Regions from separate parts of the Homo sapiens genome. Here all the other regions are linked to region 6. The links are contacts of gene promoters, found by promoter capture Hi-C in blood cells and fetal thymus (Javierre and others, 2016). All regions are on one chromosome and are shown on one strand. Each heading gives the region's core, a stretch centred on a gene start or on the middle of the fragment in contact. The rest is flanking DNA. Distances are from core to core; before and after follow the strand shown. Region 1 holds the start of FAM110D (family with sequence similarity 110 member D). Region 2 holds the start of PDIK1L (PDLIM1 interacting kinase 1 like). Region 3 holds the start of STX12 (syntaxin 12). Region 4 holds the start of CEP85 (centrosomal protein 85). Region 5 holds the start of TRIM63 (tripartite motif containing 63). Region 6 holds the start of ZDHHC18 (zDHHC palmitoyltransferase 18).

Region 1 (3,151 bases), core at 15-2,514, 670 kb before region 6:
AGCAGCTAATGGCATTTTGAAAAGTGCTGTAGCAACAAAATATGGAACTATCACCAACAAAATCCCCCCTTTAGGTAATAAAAACCTTTTACCGGGAGATGGGCCTTGGGTTTTCAGACCCACTACTGACTTGACAGGCAGAGGATGCAGTTCCAAATGTGGATTTGGAGCTGGGCTTTGGGCATCTCTCTCCCCCCTCAGCTCCTGTTTCCTTACTCATTAAGTGGGGGGTCATTCCTGCTGGACGCCTGTCTAGGGTCCTTGTTTGGGGGCGGTCAAAGGAGATCAGAGAGCACAGACGGGAATGTGCTTTGCAAACATGAAAGAGGGCTAGAAAGGAGGAGGAGGGACTTGGGGAAGGTGGCCAGCCAAGGGGGGAAAGGAACCTTTGGCCTGAGCACTGGTCTTAGTCTGGGCTGGAGAGTTTAGTTTGCCTGCTGGGGAGAGGGGAGGTGTCTCCTATGAGGTAGGGTTTCACCTTGAGACATAAGGTGTCAGAGAAGAAACTCTGATGGAAGAAGCTCTAAGAGGCTCCAAGTGTGGGCAGAGAAGGAAGCGGGCCAAAGGACCTGGGCTTGGCCCTGGAATCAGCCCCTCATCACTGTCTTCCCAGGCAATCCCATCTGCCATGAAAGGACCTTGGCAGAGGCAGCTCCAGTGGGCTCCAGGGTCACCTTCATGACAAGACTTGCCGCCACAGGCTCACCTGCACATCTATAGCACCAATGCCCCCACCCTTAGGCTGCAGATTCCTGGTCTCGCCCCCAGGGAAAGCAGGCTTGACACCACCCAGCACCCAGACCAAGACAGGTCTCAGCCTGCTACAGAGGGAAAAAAGCAAGTTGACTAGAACCCTGTTCTGCCTTCCCATTCAGACTGTCAGAGCATCTGCCACAGCCCAGGGAGGGGGCTGATCCCACATACGGAGCCCCCACCCCAGGCCTTTGGAGGAAGCCTGGGGATCAGGAGGCCTTGTTTGGAGTCCTGGCTCTGCCCAAGCTCACAGTGCTTCCACAGCCAATCACCTAACCGGGCTGGGACTGTTTGACCATCTGTAAAATAAAAGGAGCTGGACTTGGTTCACAGGTCTCCACAGCGCAGGACTGTGATCAGGAAAGAGTTAATGGAGGCCAGGATCTGCCTCAGGAAGGCGAGGGTTAATTTGGGGGGCGGGGGGTGGAGGCTTTCTCTGCTTTTCCTGTGGAGAGTGAGGTTTGGCTGCCACCAAAGTTACTTCTAGTCCTTGCTGTCCACTCCTGCCCTCAGTCTGGACCTGCCCAAGGACCCCTGCAATTAGGCCTCCCATGCAGAGGTGAGTGTACCCTGAGCCCAGGGCTGGGGTAAGAAGGAACCCAGGGGCCTGAGGGCAGGGAGACTGGTGCCAAACTAGTGAGCCTAAAAGATGGCCCATGCCCAGAGCAGAAGCCTTGGGCAGAGTTGAGACCACAAGTTTCAGGACTGGGAGAAGGCAGGCAAAGGAATGGAGGGCCCGAGGCTGCCTGCCAGGCTTCTAGGGCGGGATGTCTGAGGTCCGGCCTCCAGGCTAGCCCAGAAGGCAGGGAAGAGGCTGTGGATGACAGACTATTTTGGTCCTTGTGATTAGGAACTTTTTATAGTCTCCCTGCTCAGGGCTGGGGAGAAGAGGAGAGGACAGAGGGCACCCATGGGGTCAGACAAGCAGTGCCTTCCTGGGACCTTGGAATCTGACCCACTGCCAAGGAGACTCCCTGGGAGACAGGGAGGGGGACACTGCCAGACTCTCCTTGGTTCCCAGGCCTCAACTACCTATGAGCAGACTGACTACACACTAGATGCTGGGTGCAGGGGTGGGCTGGACCTGGCAGGGTCTCTGCCCCAAGGCCTCTCACAGACTCCTTCCCCACTTCCCTGGCTAATTCTGTTCCTTTGTTGTCCCCAGATCCAAGGTCCCTCAGCCTCCAGGACTCAGGGGGAGTAGGGGAAGATAGGGGTGGGGTCGGGTGTGCAGGGCCATGTGGGTGGCCCATTCTGTTACTGCCAAGAGAACTGTCAGCTCTTGATTTACAACCCCTCCTCGCTCCTTGCCCCAGCAGAAGGGAGGTGGAAAAGGGTCATGAGGTCTTAGGATAAAAAAGGGACAAGGACCCTGGGGGCAAATTTCTGGGAGTGGGAGCGCAGGTTATTAGGAAGAATTAGTGGAAGGAACTTTTTAGTGAGGCAAGGGGCCCATTTCTAACGGAAATTGCTTGGTTTTATAGCAGCGGGAATACACGCAAAATATCAGTGAGTTCTTTTTTTTTTTCTTTTTTTTTTTTTGAGACGGAGTCTCGCTCTGTTGCCCAGGCTGGAGTGCAGTGGTGCGCGATCTCGGCTCACTGCAACCTCCGCCTCCCAGCTTCAAGCGATTCTCCTGCCTCAGCTTCCCAAGTAGCTGGGATTACAGGTGTGCGCCACCCCGCCTGGCTAATTTTTGTATTTTCAGTAGAGATGGGGTTTTGCCATGTTGGCCAGGCTGGTCTGGAACTCCTCACCTAAGGTAATTCACCCACCTCGGCCTCCCAAAGTGCTGGGATTACAGGCATGAGCCATCGCGCCTGGCCTCAGTGGGAAGTTCTGATAGGCAAGTGAGAGATCCAATCTGAACTGCAAGGCAAGAAACCTGGGTGACAAAGCAAGACTCCGTCTAAAGAAAAAAAAAAAAGAAACCTGGGTTCCAGTCCTGGCTCCTAACTCTCAATAGGACCTGAGCAAGCCCCCCTCCTCTCCAAGCCAGTTTCCTCTTCATGAAATGGAAATGCAAAGGTTAAACAAGGTGATGTTTACAGTTTGGCATTCTGCGATCCCCTTGGCAGGGGCAGAGTAGCTGGCAGTAGCTGATAGGGCCTGGGGACCACCTCCCTCTCCTGCCCCGATGGCCCTGCTGGGCCTGGGCAGGGCAGTTGGCTGCAATTACTGGAGGCTCCTACCCTGTGGTTATATCCCCGACCTCGGTGTTTGGGGGCGGGAAGGGTGGGCCCTGCTGGAGCCAGCCTGTGGCTGGGAGCCTTCTTGTCTTGGGCTCAAAGCTGCTGGGTTGGGAAGAGGTATTTTTTCCGGTTGAAGCCACTTTCAGGAATTGGGCCGGGACCAGCCCTGTTTCCTTTTCCAAGTGTCCTGCTTGCTAAGGCCTGCT
Region 2 (3,215 bases), core at 682-3,181, 710 kb before region 6:
AACTAATGAATCTTAAGCTTCAGAGTCCTTTACTTATAGGGACCCTTTCCAGTGTTCCAGATATGTGTTCACAGGGCCATTTTATAACATTTTTCCTCAGGAGGACACCCCAAATTATTTAAGTTTCAGGTCCCACAAGATCTAAACCCCCCTCACAGACTTAACAGTGAGCCTAAACTGGGGGCGAGAGTGGATTTCAAATCTCATCTGCAGCTGACTTAAGAGCAAGGGTTCCTATGATATTTAATGACTGAGACAAAATGAAAACGCTACTTTGATCGAGAGAGAGGTCCCTCCCCTGATTGGGATCAATAACCCACACAGGTAGTTAGCTGTCTACGCAGAGCCTTCTATATTTTCCCTCTACTTTTGAGGGCGGGAAATAAGTCTTGGCTGACACCAGTGTTTCCAGCAAACAGCTGAAGACTTGACACTTGGATGGCACTCAGGACAAAAATCTGAACAGATTACAGAACCGTTGTTGTTTTTTTTTTTTAAGGGGAGGGTGTGTTACACCAGGAATGGGTATTCAAGGTAGACACATCCCAAAACAGACACTTCAGTGAGAAGAGGCAGAGGTGTTTCCTCACCTGTAAAAACAGGATAATAAAACCTACTCTTGTGGGGTTTGGTTAGGATTAAGCAAGATCATTTATATAAAGACCTAACCCAGTGCCAGACTCTCGGGAGAAGGGGCATAAAGGACAGAAAATAAAATGAGTTGATCTTTGAGCACAGCGACAGGGATTTTTTGTACATCGTGCCTTACAGAGCGAGCGCTGGGAGGAGGAATCATCACCCTGCTGAGAAGTAATGGGTGCAGAATAAATCGAGTAAGAAGGAATGGACTTTTCTGGCGGATGCTTACTGATCTAACAACTGGATGACTGAGGAATGCGGTCCTAAGTGACCCCGGGCTGGCTGTGGGGCCAACAGCGTGCGGGATCTGACTAACAGCGTGTGGCAGCCGAGCGACTGCAGCAGCGGCGGGGACCCCATTGACTGTCCAGCCCCGAGAGCGGCAGGAGCGCGGTGGATCCTGGCTCGGACCAAGGCCTCTCCCCTGCGCCGACTGCAGACCAACCCTCCACCAGGAGCCTCGCGGGGGGGCGCCGTGGGCACCGCAGCCAGGTGCAGGCGCCTCCGCGCCCTCACTCCCCACGCCGAGGAGGTGGCCCTGGCTCCCTGCGGCCGCAGCCGGGGAACAATGAGGCGCCGGCCTCTTTAAGGGAGATACCACCGCGCCGGCGGGGCAGGGGACGGCATCCTCCCAGATGATCGCACCCAGCCCCGCGCCGCCGCCGCCGCCGCCGTCTCCGCAACTGCACCGCCCGCAAACATGGCTCAGTGACTCGGAGAAAAGCTGCAGTCTCCCTCCCGGCGGGGCGGACGCCAGGCCTCCTTGGTCGGGCCGCACCTCCCCGCAGGCCCGCCAAAGAGCACCGCGCCCCGCAGGCACCCGAGACCCGCGCGGAAGATGCACCGGGCGTTCCACCCCAGCGAGCCCCGCACCCCAGCCCGCAGCTCGGTAGGTCGGAAGGGGGCGGGTAGAGGGAGGGGAGGCCGCGGCCGGGCGCGCGCAGCCCCAGGCCCGGACCTGCCGCTGCAGACGGTCCCCGGGGCCGCGGGCCCTGAGCGCCCGCTGCGGCTGGAGGGTGGCCGAGCCCCGGCGTGGCGTGGCCTCGCGGTTCCCGAGCCCGGCCACCCCTGCGGGGAGCAGCACCAGTGGTGCGCTCCGGAGCGCGCACACCTCCGACGACTCCCGGCTCTGCAAATCCTCGAGAGAGGGAGGAGGCGAGCGGAGCGCCGGCCGCGCGCCTCGTCGGTGGCGCGGAACGTCCCGGCTCGCGCTACGGAAAGCCGGAGGGGGGCGGGGCCGTCGGCGTAAGGGGGTGTGTCCGCGCGCACCACGGGGGCGCGCGCCGGCTGCTGACTGGAGGCGGCGGCAGCGGAGGCGCGAGCTGCCCGATAATGGCGGCCTGCAGAGCCCATGAGAGGGAGAAGCGGCAGCGTCTACCCTGAGGTAAATCTGGCCTTTCGGCGTGGCGGAGAGGTCTTGCTGCAGAGCCGATGGCCCTGCATGTGCCTCCCTCCCTGGGAGGCTTGTCACAGACGTGTCAGCGGAGTCATCCTGGGGAAGGCCCTGCGCTCCTCAGGCCACCGACCCCAGTCGCGGCCTCCTCTCATACCGGGGCCACCTCCCCCCGGCCCTCAGCCCCCAGCCCCGAGGAGTTGAGGCAACTGCAGGGCTGGCTCCTCAGAGCGAAGGGGCTCAGGAGGCTCCCCTCCGGGCTTCATCTGAGCACGGCCGAGGAGGGGGAGGGCCTGACACTTGGCCAATGAGCGCGGCCTGAGCCGCCGCGTCGGGCAACACCTCTGGCCGCGACTGGCCCTTCCCGGGCGCCGGCAGGTGTCTGGCCTGGCCGGCTCGCGTCCCAGCGCCTGGTTAGAGCAGCGGGAGCGAGGGCCCGCCACTTTCGGTCGAAAGTCACTTAGGTTCGCATCGGATGCATCATTGGATCCGGGATCCCACGGGTTTCATAAACACCTCTCTCCTCCCTATTCAGGAAGGTGCTCTTCCCCATGGGGACTGTACCAGGCTGGAGAGGACATGGCACTGCTTCAGAGACACGAACCACCTTGAGTGGATGTGATTGGCGATCCCCGTAGAGCAGGAAAGCTCGTCTGCTGTGCAGCCGGCGCAGAGGATTCTGTGGCAGGAAATTAGACACTAGGAAATTCAGTAGCGATTTGAAGGGTGGGTGTCCAGTTAGAGGAAGTGGGACTGAACACAATCTCAGAAGTCATTTCTTTTTATTAAATCTATCCTGTAGACTTAAAGCAGTGGATCCCAACTTCTCAGGCTCTAGGGTCAGTAGCCTTTTGCTTCCCCAGCTGTACAGAATAAATATTGTACAATCTCAGGTTACTTTTCTAGCCCGTGGTCACAATCTACAAATGAGAATTCGTTCATGAAGTTGGTTATAATCTAGAAATTCTTTGGGCGCTGAGGAAGCCCACTTTAGACTTTCTCCATTCAACACATGAGCATTTCTGTGCAGGGCCTTTGCCCTCGCCTTTAAACCGTTCAGTAAGTTGAATTCCCAAGAACTCTGTCAGAGAGCCCCTTGATATGCAGGATCTTTGTTGGCAAAAATGACCTAGAACTAAATAGATATTGTTTACTCCAGCTGTCTTATGACTAGGAAAAAGGA
Region 3 (3,319 bases), core at 150-2,649, 950 kb after region 6:
TGCTTGAGCCCAGGAGTTTGAGACCAGCCTGGACAACATGGCCAAACCCCAACACTACAAAAAATATAAAAATTAGCTGGGCGTGGTGGCGCACGCCTGTAATCCTAGCTACTCAGAGGTTAGGTGGTAGGACCTCCTGAGCCCAGGAGAAGGAGGATGCAGTGAGCAGAGATCGCGCCACTGCACTCCAACCTGCGTGACAGAGCGGGACCCTGTCTCAAAAAAAATAAAATAAAGAAAAAATCCTAAGGCCATATACAGGCTCATTCACTTTGGGTCTCCTTTCATCCAGGCAAGCAGCTTTCTGTCTTTGCATTTTCCAAAGACTACAAAGCAGGCTGGGGTGGGGTGGGGTGGGGTGTAGAACACAGGAAACGCAGCCAGTTCCCCTTCACTTCTCACTATCTTGATCTCCTCCCAAACCAAAATCCTATGTCTTTCCTTTTAACATAGGCTTACAAAAATGCAGTTTTCTGTGGGAACATTGAGGTCATGCATTCCAAATTACTTAAGGGAACGATTTTTAAATTTTAGGAATCTAGTTCTCCAAGATATCCCGGCTTGGGATATAGATGAACGAGCTATTTGGGAGAGATTTAGACGAGAATGAATTTTAGAGAAGTAGCGAGGTGAGGAGAGAGTCAGCTTAGCGTTTGGGTTTTGCAGTCAAATTTCAGCAAGGCGAACTAACCTCGCTGGTCTTAATTTTCTCATCGGTAAGAGGGAAAATAATAATGCTTACTTTGATGAATTACTTTACTTCAACATTTAAAAAACCGACTCTCCGTTATCTATTCTAATGATAAAAATATAGATAGAGCATCGTCCCCTGCTGTGAAAAATCTTATGAACAAGTGAATTGCGGTGAGGATTCACATAGTATGTGCTCAATAAACATTATTTTATTGTTTAGATTAGAAGAGGGGTGGAGGGAGAAATGAAAGTGGTTTGGAAACCCCAAACACTACCAAAGCCCTGGGGATGGAAGTAGAGAGGAATTTCGGGTTACGATTTGGTTCCGGGTCTGAGTTTCAACGTTGAATTCTCCCATATTTGGGCCTGAATTCTCAGAACAGAATAGGATGTAAGGGCTGAGATCATCTGGTACAGTTTTATGCAAATCGAAAATTCTTGCCTCTTGTCACTGTGCCCTGGCGAGAAACAACACCTCCACCCAAGCTCATCCAATCTCAGCCCCAACTAGGTGACGTCATCTCCCCGCCCTGCATCCCCAAGCCTCGGGGAGTCCTGTCTCTAAGCTACAGTCCCAGCTCCAGTCCCAGCTCCAGTCCCAGCGGCGCCTGCGCACTTTGGACCGGGGCGGGGAGGACGCGTGCGCGCCGCGTGAGGGCGGGGCTAGTGCGCACGCAGCCTTAGCTCCTTCCCCGCCCTTGCTCTTCCCAGTTTCTCCGTCAGCCTGCGGGTCCCGGCTGGCGGCTGCTTCCGGTAGGAGAGCGGTGTAGAGCGAGCAGGTCTCAGCTCCTCGTCATGTCATACGGTCCCTTAGACATGTACCGGAACCCGGGGCCCTCGGGGCCCCAGCTCCGGGACTTCAGCAGCATCATCCAGACGTGCAGCGGCAACATCCAGCGGATCAGCCAAGCCAGTGAGCCGGGGTACCGAGCTGGGGGGCGGGAGCTGTCCCGGGGACAGGCCTGGGTGAGGCTGCCGGGACGCAGGGCCCGGCTGGGGCTACGGCCGAGGCCACACCTGGGGCTGTCTCGGGCTGTCCACCCTGGGGGCGGTGGGCTGCCATCCCCCAATCTGTCAGGCCCGGGTTGCCCGAGGGTCCCCGGCCCCAGCTGAAGCTTGAGCTGCTTCTCTGGAGTTCTGCCCCCACGGTGCTGGGACCAAAACAGCCGACTTGACAGCCCGAGGGTGGGAAGGGGAGTGTGTGTCACCTCGAGAGCTGTGAGTGCGTTGACTTGGCGCAGTGGTCAGCCGAGTTTCTCCTGTCACCCACCTTCCTCCCCACCCACCTCGCTTTCCTCTTAGACCAGTTTGGATGGGGTTGTTTACTGATTTAGCCTTTAGGTTTACATTCTGCTCAGCCCCTGGCTCCTCGGAAATCAGCAACTTTCAATTAAGGGAAGTGGAGAGTGCATGTGTTTGGGTGACTTCATACACAGTTCTTCCTGTAATGAATTCGGAAATCAGACACAATGACTGGTATTTGAAAGGTGGGATGACTTCATTTTAATAAAGAGAATTCACCAACAGCATTTCAATTTACATTATTTTGTCTTTTGTAACAAATAATTGGGGTGTATTTTTGGATTTCAGGCAGATGAGGCTTTTGTTTTCCTTCCCTACTTAGCTGCTCTTGAACAAATCTGGTACACAGGGAAGCTAAGACACTTAGCCACAACCACATAGCAAGTAAGGCATGGTAGAGTTGTTGGTGGAATTCAGAATGCTATTGCTTGTCTTAAAACTCCCTCCTCCCCATTAGGGTCTGAGTGAAACTGTAGCTGAATGAGTCAAATACAGGGTGTTTCTTGTGCTTGAAAATCATCTTGGAGCCTTATAAACAGGAGATCAGCAGCAGCTTTACTTGGAAAGAATGGTGGTCATCATCCTTGTTGTTTATTATTGTTTTGTGAGCTTGGCGTACTCTGTTAATAGGTAGAACTAGTTAGTCCTGAATTACAATTATATTCTATATTTTAAAGAGTGTCACTTTGCTTTCGTTTTTAAACTTTTAAAAATTTTTCTTTTTTGTAGAGATGAAGTCTTGCTATGTTGGCCAGGCTGGTCTCAAACCCCTGGGCACAAGCACTTCTCCCACTTTAGCCTCCCAAAGTGCTGGGATTACAGGCGTGAGCCACTGTGCCTAGCCTAATTTTTTTGATTTAAAATATTTTTAATTTATTTTTTCGAGACAGAGTCTACTTCTGTCACCCAGGCAGAATGCAGTGATCTGAGTGAAGTGGTACAATCCTAGCTCACTATAACCTTGAATTCCTGATCAGCTTGCTGAGTAGCAAGGACTACAAGGATGCATCTACCGTGCCAGGCTAATTTTTAAATTTTTTGTAGGGATGGGGTCTCACTATGTTGCCCAGGCTCACTTTGCTTTTAAATCTAAATGTATATTGTAGAATTTGAGAAGTAGAAAGTTTCTGATCAAAAGGGATTGAGACTCTGGAAGTGAAAGGAAGAATATGTGGCCTGTTAAAATCCAGAAGTAAAAAAAATTAATATGACCACTGGTTAGAAAGTATAGTACTGTTTGTTCCAGTTTCCTTTTGTGAAGGAGCTGTAATACAGGTTAGATCAGAAAATTCTAGTTCAAGGCTGAAATTTTCTTGTTGAAGCT
Region 4 (3,034 bases), core at 238-2,737, 590 kb before region 6:
TGCCCACCACCACACCTGGCTAATTTTGTATTTTTAGTAGGGTTTTATCATGTTGGCCACAGGCTGGTCTCAAACTCCCGACCTCAAGTGATCCACCTGCCTGGGCCTCCCAAAGTGCTGGGATTACAGGCGTGAGCCACCGTGCCCGGCCAGGACTAACACTTTCTAGCTTTCTACCCTTCAGTCCATAAATTTATTCATTTAGACACCCTGTCTTAACATTTTTTTTTTTAGCCTTTACGTTAACAGAGGCTTCTGGTCCTAATTTCATATCATACCCAGGTTCATTTTCATTATCCATTAAATCTGCTATTTTATGTCTTCTATATTCTTATCTTAAAATACTAAAAGAGAGGACAAAGGATACAACCTTGGGGCACATCCCTAGGGTCTTTCCTCTAGAGTGACTTTTATTCAGTAATGAACTCACTTTGTCTGGCTCTTAAAGCTAAGAAATTATACAACTTTTTTTTTCCATACAACTTTTTTTTGGAGTGCAGGGGCACGATCTCGGCTCACTGCAACCTCCGGCTCCCTGGTTCAGGCGATTCTGCTGCCTCAGCCTCCCGAGTAGCTGGGATTACAGGTATGCGCCACCACACCCAGCTAATTTTTGTATTTTTAGTAGAGACGGGGTTTCACCATATTGGCCAGGATGGTCTCGATCTCCTGACCTCGTGATCCGCCCTCCTCTGTCTCCCAAAGTGCTGGGATTACAGGCATGAGCCACCGCGCCCGGCCTCCTATACAATTTTTTAGTATCTCTCCCTGCCAAGTCAGGTTTCTAGATACCCAGAATTTCACTATCTGAGATTCATTCCTTTGGCTGATGGTTCTGTTCTCCTTTCAAACAATTTTCCTGTCTGACTCTTCAAGCGCATATTAATGCAAATGGACTTAACAGTTCCTTTTCCTGTGGACCAAGTTTGGGGAGGGAGGCAGGACTGATCCTTTACCCTTCAACCTGAACCTTGGTCACAGGCTGACCACTGCGTCCAACCCAGACCAAGCCTTGACCCTGACTAGTCAGTGACCCAGGCCACACCCTAACTCCTGGTCACAACCTGAACCCCTGCTTCAGGTGTGAGAACTGATAGACCGGCGTTGGAATGGAAGGAGGGTGAGGCAAGCTGAGTGGGATTCTCGTGTCCCCAGCCCCGCCCGCGGGCCGCCAGCTTCCCAACCTGCACAGGCCCAGCAGGGCCCCTCCAGGTCTAGGTGAGCAGAGCTCCACCTACAGGTAAAACGCGGCAAGGGGCAGAGAAGGAGCCAAGTGGCGACGTGGTCATGCGCAGAAAGATCCGTCCGGCTCTCTGAGCAGAGGGTAGCGTGTGGGGGCGGGATACCGACGCGGCTCGGCTGCCGATTGGTCAGAAGAGGATAGAAAGGGGCGGGAAGCCGGCGCGGCTCGACTCCCGATTGGCCAGAGGCGGCAGAACGGGGTGGGGCCAAACGACGCGCGTTCTGTGGCGCGCGGCCTGGCGGGCGTGCAACGGCCGTTAGAGGAGCTGAGGGAGGGAACCACCGCTCACCGCAGACGTGGTGGCTGCAGTCAGTCTTCCCGAGTGAGGGATTTCGCCGCCCGCTTTCAGGCCCGTGTAAGTTTTCCTCCTTCGGGAGCCTCAGTCCTAGTGGCCGACCTTGCCTCTCCTCCCATAGCTCCGGCGAAGCCTCAGACGCTCGCGACCTGCCACCGTGAGGGGCCGGGGAGAGCGAAGCGCATGCGCCTCGGCTCCGAAGCCAGTGCCCCGGCATACGCCCTCTCGCGTCCCATTCCCCTCGCTTCCCCCGTTGCCTTGCTTTGCCGTCCGTGGTTCACCCCACGGCAGTCACTTTACCTGCGTGCCAGGCCCTGTGCCGATAGCCAGGGACACAGCGAGCGGCGCATTCCTTGCCCTTGCGGAGCGCACAGCCCTGGGAGTCGACGTTAAGCGGGGTAATCCCTCGGCGCGCAGTGAGGGTAGAGTGGAGAAATCTTACAAAGAGCGCAAAACAGAAGGCGCGGATCTAGTCGGAGAGGTCAGGGAGCCCTCCCCGAGGAGGAGAAGTTTGAGCCGAGATTGGAAGGCTGTGTAGAGAATTAAGGTTGTGGGACGGAAAGCACTTGGCGGGGCCTTACCCCGGTACTTCTCGGCCGGGGCGATTTTGCTTCCCTGGGGACATTGGTCGATGTCTGGAAACACTTTTGATAGTCACAGCTCCAGGGCTTGCTACTGGCATCTAGTGCGAAGAAGCCAGGGATGCTGTTACACAGCCTACTGTGTGTAGGACGCCCCCAACAACAAAGAAAAATCCCCCAAAATGTCAGTAGGGCGGAAGGTGAGGAAGCTTCCTTCAGCGAGAAGGAGCTGGTGCTTTGGTTGAACTGAAAGTTAGTGTGTTCAGGTTTATTTGTTCAACAGTATATTCAACGCTTACTTCACCTCAGTTAATGAGAGCGATCCTTTACACCAGTACATTCCCAACACGTGGCTCAGAGCCAGGCGCATAGTAGGCACGCAGTAAATTTCGGTTGATGAATTGAACACTGGGATAAGTAGGGGGCGGTGGTGATACAAGGACGATGAAGCTAGCCAGGCCTCATTTATTTGCCCTCAAACCTTGTCTGCTTTATAGTGATCTGGTGGTTTTGTATGTCTCACGACTTTTCTTTGTAAAGGCAACTTCTTGTCAAGGATTTGGCTTCTCTTTCACAAGGTTTAATGAATGATCAAGGCGGTGAAAATAGTGTAATGGTGTGAGATCCTTCGTGTGTCTGTGTCAGCTGTCTGTGTATCCCTTCAAATCCTCTCTTGTCTTGATGTGGTTCTCTTAACAGCTGCCAAGCATGATGTTCCACACTTAGATTGTAATTCTTTTTTTTTTTTTTTTTTTTGTGAGACGGAGTTTTGCTCTTGTTGCCCAGGCTGGAGTGCCGTGGCGCGATGTCGGCTCACCGCAACCTCCGCCTCCCAGGTTCAAGCGATTCTCCTGCCTCAGCCTCCCGAGTAGCTGGGATTACAGGCATGCGCCACCATGCACGGATAATTTTGTA
Region 5 (3,094 bases), core at 323-2,822, 760 kb before region 6:
TAATGTCTGGGCCCCTTCCCATCCGCTGAGCAATCCTGAGAGCTGGGTTGGGGTGTATGGGTCTCCAGTCCTGTCTCTGAATGGCTTGTGTAGCTAGTCCAGCTAGAGGCCTGGATCCTGAGCAGATGAAGGAGGGGGAAGGAGCGTGGGGGATCTAGGCACAGCATGGCTGGGAAGGAGGGCGGGCCCCCAGCAGGCACGAGAACCGACCTGGAGCACTCCTGTTTGTAGATGTCGATGATGTTCTCCACCAGCAGGTTCCTCTGCAGGCCGTACACTCCGTGACGATCCATGATCACCTCGTGGCGGCAGGTGGGGCAGCGGAAACGGCCTCCAGACATGGACACTGAGCTGCCCCGGCTGGTCCAGTAGGGATTTGCAGCCTGCAGGTGGCAAAGGTCAAGGTGAGGCCTGGGCTCCCTACTTAGCCCTTCTCTTTTCTAATCTCCTCTTATCCTTTCCTCTGCCTATCCGAACCACCCCCGTCAAACCTAACAACCTGGAGCTCTGCAGACTGTGATGAGAACCAGTCCTCACACACAGAGCACCTGAGAAGCAGCTAAGCAATCGTCAGGATGGGGAGGCAGGAGACCTGGGTTCAAGTCATGTTTATTCTCTGAGTGATTTTGGGCAAGCAACCTTATCTGTGTAGGCCTCAGTTTGCCCACTTATGAAATAGGTATTACAATGAGAGCAAGCTCCTAAGGCTGCTACTTTAAAGATAATATCGTGAAAGAACATTTTGTAAAGTGTCCATGGGGAACCTCGCATCCTGCCTCCCAGCCAGGACATCTACCCCCTTCCTTTCTCGGGGAGTTGGAGCCCCTTCTGCCCCCATATCATAGGGAACAGCCTCAAAAGGGAAGATGCCTCTACTGCCCACTGCCTCCCTGACACCCTCCTCCCAAAGCTCTGGGCCTCTTGCCACCAGGACCTGGCTCCAGCCCCAGGGGTCTGGTTTCTCTCTCCTGTCCCTGCCTACCCCGCTTATCACTTGAGGCATTTGACTCTTGATTGGAGAGTCAACAGCAGTGCTCAGGGCAGGGGTGGGGGAGCTGTGGGCAGGGCAGGGAGGGGAAACTTGTGTTATGGAGAAGAACCGCAGCAGCCAGAGCCGCCTCCCAGCCCCCTCTCAGCCCTGTCCAGAGGCCTCTGCAGGGGTTCACTTCCAAGGGGAAAGAGGCTGTCCAGGTTGGAAGTCTAAGGGAGAAGGGTTTCATCACAGGGAAGCCAAGTAGCCACCTGGGGACCCCAAATGAAGCTGCACCCGGCACTTACCTGGAAGATGTCATTGGCACACTTCCGGCACAGGTTGTGCTGGCACGGCAAGATGACCACTGGCTTGGTAAACATCTCCAGGCAGATAGGGCAGATCAGCTGCTTCTCCAAGTTCTCCATGGGATTCCCATCCTGGATCAGGCTCGACTTATAATCCATTCTGTGGGAAGGAATGAGAGCCACGCCTAGCTGCCTCCTCTACTAACTTTGCTCTAAGTAGACCTGGGGGTCTTGCCTTTGTCACAAAACACCGGGTCGGATCCTGTTGGCTTCCTTCTCCTGGTGCCCGAATTCTGTCTTGGTCTGAGGCCCCTCTGATATTTATAGCTAGATCTTGGTCACATGAGCCCCAGGAGGGGACCAGCTGAGCATTCCGATGCCAAGCGGCTGGTGGGGCTTGAGTTTCCTCCAGGCCTGAAAGACTGGCCCTCTCAAATCACATGCAGGGATGAGCAATCACTATTCTGCTGGGACGGGGGTCATAAACAAGAACAGCCTGTTCAGAGGCAGGCTTAGGGCAAGACTGGGTACCCAGAGCTTCCTCCAGAAATTGGTCTCCCCCCGGCACCAGGCTAGTGGGTCAGGGATGGGACCCAGCAAGTGAGCCACGGGGATTCAAGGGGTTAATAGCCAATGCTATGATGAAAATGTTCGATGAATGAATTTTATTCATTCATCAGACATTTTTCTGAGTACTAGTATATACATCAGGCAACTAGTATACATCACAACGTGACAGATGGATGAGTGATCTGTTTCCCTGCCCCGAGAAACTCACAGCCCAGGAAGGGAGATAGAAAGGATTGTGCAGTGGCACGATCTCTGCTCACTGCAACCTCCACCTCCCAGGTTGAAGGGAGTCTCCTCCTTCAGCCTCCCAACCTCAACCCCCTCCCAGCCCCACGCAACCCCTCACTGACCTAAATCAATTCCATCCCCTCCTCTGGAGTCCTGGGCAGCTCCTAGATGGAAGGGTCGGGCAGCCCCTCTCTCTGAGCCCATCCCTCTGCCTCAGACTTCAGCACAGCATTTTGCTGGAGATGATGGAGACCCCCACTCCAACCAGCCCATCCTCCATCCCTCGGCCACTTATTTCACTTAGTGCTGAAAAGCCTCCTTTGAAACACAGTCCAGTCCCCTCATCTTACAGATTTTGAAATGGGACTAGAGAAGAAAAGGATTATATTCAAAGTCAGTTGGAAAGTAAGTGGCAGCCGGGCGTGGTGTCTCACACCTGTAATCCCAGCACTTTGGAAGGCTGAGGCAGGTGGATCACTTGAGGTCAGGAGTTCGAGACTAGCCTGGCCAACATGGTAAAACCCTGTCTCTACTAAAAACACAAAACTTAGCTGGGTGTGGTGGTACGCGCCTGTAATCCCAGCTACTCAGGAGGCTGAAGCAGGAGAATCACTTGAACCCAGGAGGTGGAGGTTGCAGTGAGCTGAGATCGCGCCACTGCACTCCAGCCTGGGTGACAAGAGTGAAACGCCATCTCCAAACAAAACAAAACAAAACAAAAAAGAAAGAAAATAAGTGGCAAAGACAGAAATTTTATTCATTCATCAGACATTTTTCTGAGTACTAGTATACATCAGGTAACTAGTATACATCACAACGTGACAGATGGATGAGTGATCTGTTTCCCTGCCCCAAGAAACTCACAGCCCAGGAAGGGAGATAGAAAGGAAAAACCCAGAGGGCACAGTGACTCACGCCTGTAAACCCAGCACTTTAGGAGGTCGAGGTGGGCAGACCACGAGGTCAGGAGATGGAGACCATCCTGGCCAACATGGTGAAACCCTGTCTCTACTAAAAA
Region 6 (3,219 bases), core at 634-3,133:
TTTCTGTAAAGTGACGAGAAAAAAGAAAAGGTTTCAGGTTGCAAGAGGACCCAGTTAAGGTGGGACAACAGGAATCTGTACTGGAACCAGTATGTCTAGTTTTGTGACTTTGTTCCACAGCCAAGGAGCAAAAAGGGAGGAAGCTCACCATGTGGTTTGCTCAAGATGGGGCTCATCATATTGAGAGCCTTTGGCACCAAAGGCACGGCTGAGCAGCCTTTGGCATATATATCAATTATTGATCCTTAAGGTCACTGTTGTCGGCTTCCTACTCCTCCCCATTGTATATTTTTACTTCCTTTTTTACTTTCTCCTAGTCTCCAGTTCTTTTTTTCCTTGCACTTTTCCTTAGGTTTTACAGTAACCACAGTGTGACAGACATACCCTAAGCTGACCCCCAATGATTCCTGCCTCCTGGTATTTACGCCTTGTGTGATTCCCTTTTCTTGAGTGCAGATGGCTCCTGTGCTTTGCTTTTAACCATAGGAGATGGCAATGATGATGGGATGCCACTCTGTCACATATATAGTAAGTTATATAAAACTCTATCATCATAGTCTGGAGCTAGAGACCCTCATTGTCAGTTTCAAGAAACTAAGTGGCTATGTAGGAGAAACCTGCATGGCAAGGAAATGTGATAATCTCTAGGAACTGCAGGTGGCTTTTGGATCCTGAGAGAGGCCTCCAGCAGACACCCAGCAAAAATCCCAGGCCCTCCTCAGTTATACAGTCACCCAGCAAAAATCCCAGGCCCTCTTCAGTTAAACAGTCGCAAGGAAGTTAATTCTGCCAATAACCCAAATGGGCTTGCAAGTGGATTCTTCCCTGGCTGAGTCTCCAGATGAGAATGCAGCCTGATTGCAGCCTTGTGAGACTAAGCAGAGGACCCAGCTAAGCTGTTCTCTGGCTCCTGACCTGGAACCTGTTAGATAACGTTTGTTTTTTGTTTTTTTTGAGACGGAGTCTTGCTCTGTCACCAGGCCGGGTGCAATGGCACAATCTCGGCTCACTGCAACCTCCACCTCCTGGGTTCAAGCAATTCTCCTGCCTCAGCCTCCCGAGTAGCTGGGACTATAGATGCCGTGCCACCATGCCCAGCTAATTTTTTATTTTTAGTAGAGACGGGGTTTCACCATATTGGCCAGGATGGTCTCTCTCGACCTTGTGATCCACCCACCTCGGCCTCCCAAAGTGCTGGGATTACAGGCGTGAGACACCGCGCCCGGCCGATAATGTTTGTTTTAAGCCTTAAATTTGTGGTAACTTGTTACACAGCAGTAGAAAATGAATACTCCCAGAATTCCTGAAAAAACACTGGGGCCCTCAGGCATGACCCCTCTACATTATGTGCTACCTAGGAAAATCTGGGCCTGGGCCCAGGACACAGAACTTGGTGAACGAGGCCAGAGGGTGTGCCACACACCTCCAGTGGGCACTCTGGACTTCAAGGTAGAAGAGGTCCTGGCTTTCAAAGCAAATCGTGTGCCCCACCTCCCCGCGCCTGCCTGCCTCTGCAAATGCCTGTCAGTTCGACCCTCAGAGATGGGCGAAGCCTGGGGAATTACAGACTGCCAGAAGTAGATCACGAAGTCCACCACCTGAATCTCGGCGTTTGGCACCGTGCCTGGTACACAGTGGACGCCCAACAAACGGCTTGCTTGCAGAACAGAAAGAGCCCTCGAGTGCGCGTCTGCTGGCCCCCTCTTTGTGCAGAAGGGAAAAGGGAGACTGGGAGGGCCGGGGACCTGCGGGGCCCCGCCGCGGGTCAGAGCTGGGCCTCCGGCCAAGCGCCATCCCGGGCCCAGGCGGAGGGGGCGCTGCGGCGGGAGGCCGCGGCGGGCGGTGGCGGCGGGCCGGGGGCGGAGCGATGGCGGGGCCGCCCCAGTGAGTGAGCGAGCGAGCGCCGCGCGCGCCGCCGCTGCCACCTCCGCTGCTCGGCCCGGTCCCGGAGTGGCCCGGCCGGCCCGCGGGGCGCGGAGCCGAGGCCCGCGGCTGGCTGCATGAAGGACTGCGAGTACCAGCAGATCAGCCCCGGGGCCGCCCCGCTGCCCGCCTCCCCGGGGGCGCGCCGTCCCGGCCCCGCCGCGTCCCCGACTCCGGGCCCCGGGCCCGCGCCGCCCGCCGCCCCCGCCCCGCCGCGCTGGAGCAGCAGCGGCAGCGGCAGCGGCAGCGGGAGCGGGAGCCTCGGCCGCCGCCCACGGCGCAAGTGGGAGGTGTTCCCGGGTCGCAATCGCTTCTACTGCGGCGGCCGCCTCATGCTGGCCGGCCACGGCGGCGTCTTCGCGCTCACGCTGCTGCTCATCCTCACCACCACCGGCCTCTTCTTCGTCTTTGAGTGAGTTCCGCTGCCTCGGCGCCCCCTCCCAGCCCCCTGCCGCGCACCCCACCTTCCCAATCCCTGCTGGGCACTCCGTGCCTTCCCCTTCGCCTCCCTGGTCCTCATCCTCCCCGCCCCTTTGGGATCCTCCTCGGGCCTCTTGTCTGCCCCCCTGGCCCCTGCGCACCCCCATCCCCGCCAGATGCCCCATCCTCCTTGGTCCATTTGGGTACCCCATCCGCGCTGGTGCCCTCCACCCTCCCAGCCCCTCCATTCTCCCTGACCCCACCCTGGCACCTGTCTGCCTGCCACTGCCAGGAACACCAGCCTCCATGCCCCTCCACGGCCCCCATCCTCGCTGCCCTCTCAGAACCTGCCCCAGGGCTTCTTGAACAGGCCCCTCCTGCTCACCCATCCCTGGACCATCTCTTGCCAACCCCCCAAGTTCTTTCTGACCCTTGTATCCCTTCCTGACCACTTCTAGATCTTGTGTGTCCTTTGGCTGTGCACACCCACCATAAACATCCTAGTCATCCTCGCTGCCCTCTCCGGGTCCCTCCAGGGTCCCCTCCTTTTCTCTAGTCTCAGACACCAACCCCGCTTTTGCTTCCCCTCAGCCACGCACACCCTAGGCCCCAAGGCATCTTTTCTCAAAATCTTTGGGCCTCTCGGGCCCCCTTTCCTTCTCCAGAACCTTCCTTAGGTTCTCCAGAGCTTCCTGTCCTTCCCTCAGATCCCGCCCGCCTCCACCCAGCCGGCTCCCAGGCCCCTGGCCCCCCTGCTGACCACCTGGCTTTCTTTCCCTGCTCAACATTCTGGAACGTCCCTCTGGCCTGTTCCACATCAGCAACAGCTGCGGTGCCTTGTTGTTTTTCAGGAAAGACTTCGGAGTGCTTTCGTGT

The links. Contacts are between HindIII fragments. The CHiCAGO score rates a contact against its expected background, and 5 or more counts as called.
Region 1: the fragment with the promoter of FAM110D here is called in contact with the fragment with the promoter of ZDHHC18 in region 6 in 4 of 17 cell types (fetal thymus, naive B cells, monocytes and 1 more); the score reaches 7.4 in fetal thymus.
Region 2: a contact is called between the fragment with the promoter of PDIK1L here and the fragment with the promoter of ZDHHC18 in region 6, in 5 of 17 cell types (neutrophils, non-activated CD4 T cells, naive CD4 T cells and 2 more). The highest score is 7.9, in neutrophils.
Region 3: a contact is called between the fragment with the promoter of STX12 here and the fragment with the promoter of ZDHHC18 in region 6, in 2 of 17 cell types (monocytes and neutrophils). The highest score is 8.1, in monocytes.
Region 4: a contact is called between the fragment with the promoter of CEP85 here and the fragment with the promoter of ZDHHC18 in region 6, in 4 of 17 cell types (total B cells, non-activated CD4 T cells, naive CD8 T cells and 1 more). The highest score is 11.2, in total B cells.
Region 5: a contact is called between the fragment with the promoter of TRIM63 here and the fragment with the promoter of ZDHHC18 in region 6, in 3 of 17 cell types (fetal thymus, erythroblasts and megakaryocytes). The highest score is 7.5, in fetal thymus.

The regions. Positions count from the first base shown.
Region 1 is chr1:26,157,815-26,160,965 of GRCh38, forward strand. FAM110D (family with sequence similarity 110 member D) reads left to right here and starts at 1,265. Exons shown (of 2, transcript NM_024869.3): 1 at 1,265-1,312. The HindIII fragment of the contact is 9,541 bases long and covers 1-3,151 here.
Region 2 is chr1:26,109,893-26,113,107 of GRCh38, forward strand. It overlaps PDIK1L (PDLIM1 interacting kinase 1 like), which reads left to right and starts at 1,932. Exons shown (of 3, transcript NM_152835.5): 1 at 1,932-2,023. RefSeq lists silencers at 946-1,225, 1,286-1,925 and enhancers at 1,976-2,205, 2,586-2,695. The HindIII fragment of the contact is 5,419 bases long and covers 16-3,215 here.
Region 3 is chr1:27,771,820-27,775,138 of GRCh38, forward strand. STX12 (syntaxin 12) reads left to right here and starts at 1,400. Exons shown (of 9, transcript NM_177424.3): 1 at 1,400-1,606. The coding sequence starts at 1,489. RefSeq lists enhancers at 1,120-1,269, 1,236-1,736, 1,390-1,539, 1,737-2,237 and a silencer at 1,650-1,859. The HindIII fragment of the contact is 7,984 bases long and covers 1-1,806 here.
Region 4 is chr1:26,232,713-26,235,746 of GRCh38, forward strand. CEP85 (centrosomal protein 85) reads left to right here and starts at 1,488. Exons shown (of 14, transcript NM_001319944.2): 1 at 1,488-1,598. RefSeq lists enhancers at 1,687-1,836, 2,157-2,216, 2,307-2,356. The HindIII fragment of the contact is 7,371 bases long and covers 1-2,326 here.
Region 5 is chr1:26,066,058-26,069,151 of GRCh38, forward strand. It overlaps TRIM63 (tripartite motif containing 63), which reads right to left and starts at 1,573. Exons shown (of 9, transcript NM_032588.4): 1 at 1,279-1,573; 2 at 211-383. The coding sequence starts at 1,437. The HindIII fragment of the contact is 10,936 bases long and covers 1-3,094 here.
Region 6 is chr1:26,824,805-26,828,023 of GRCh38, forward strand. ZDHHC18 (zDHHC palmitoyltransferase 18) reads left to right here and starts at 1,884. Exons shown (of 8, transcript NM_032283.3): 1 at 1,884-2,335. The coding sequence starts at 2,001. RefSeq lists silencers at 1,666-1,818, 1,782-1,931, 1,942-2,151. The HindIII fragment of the contact is 7,154 bases long and covers 1-3,219 here.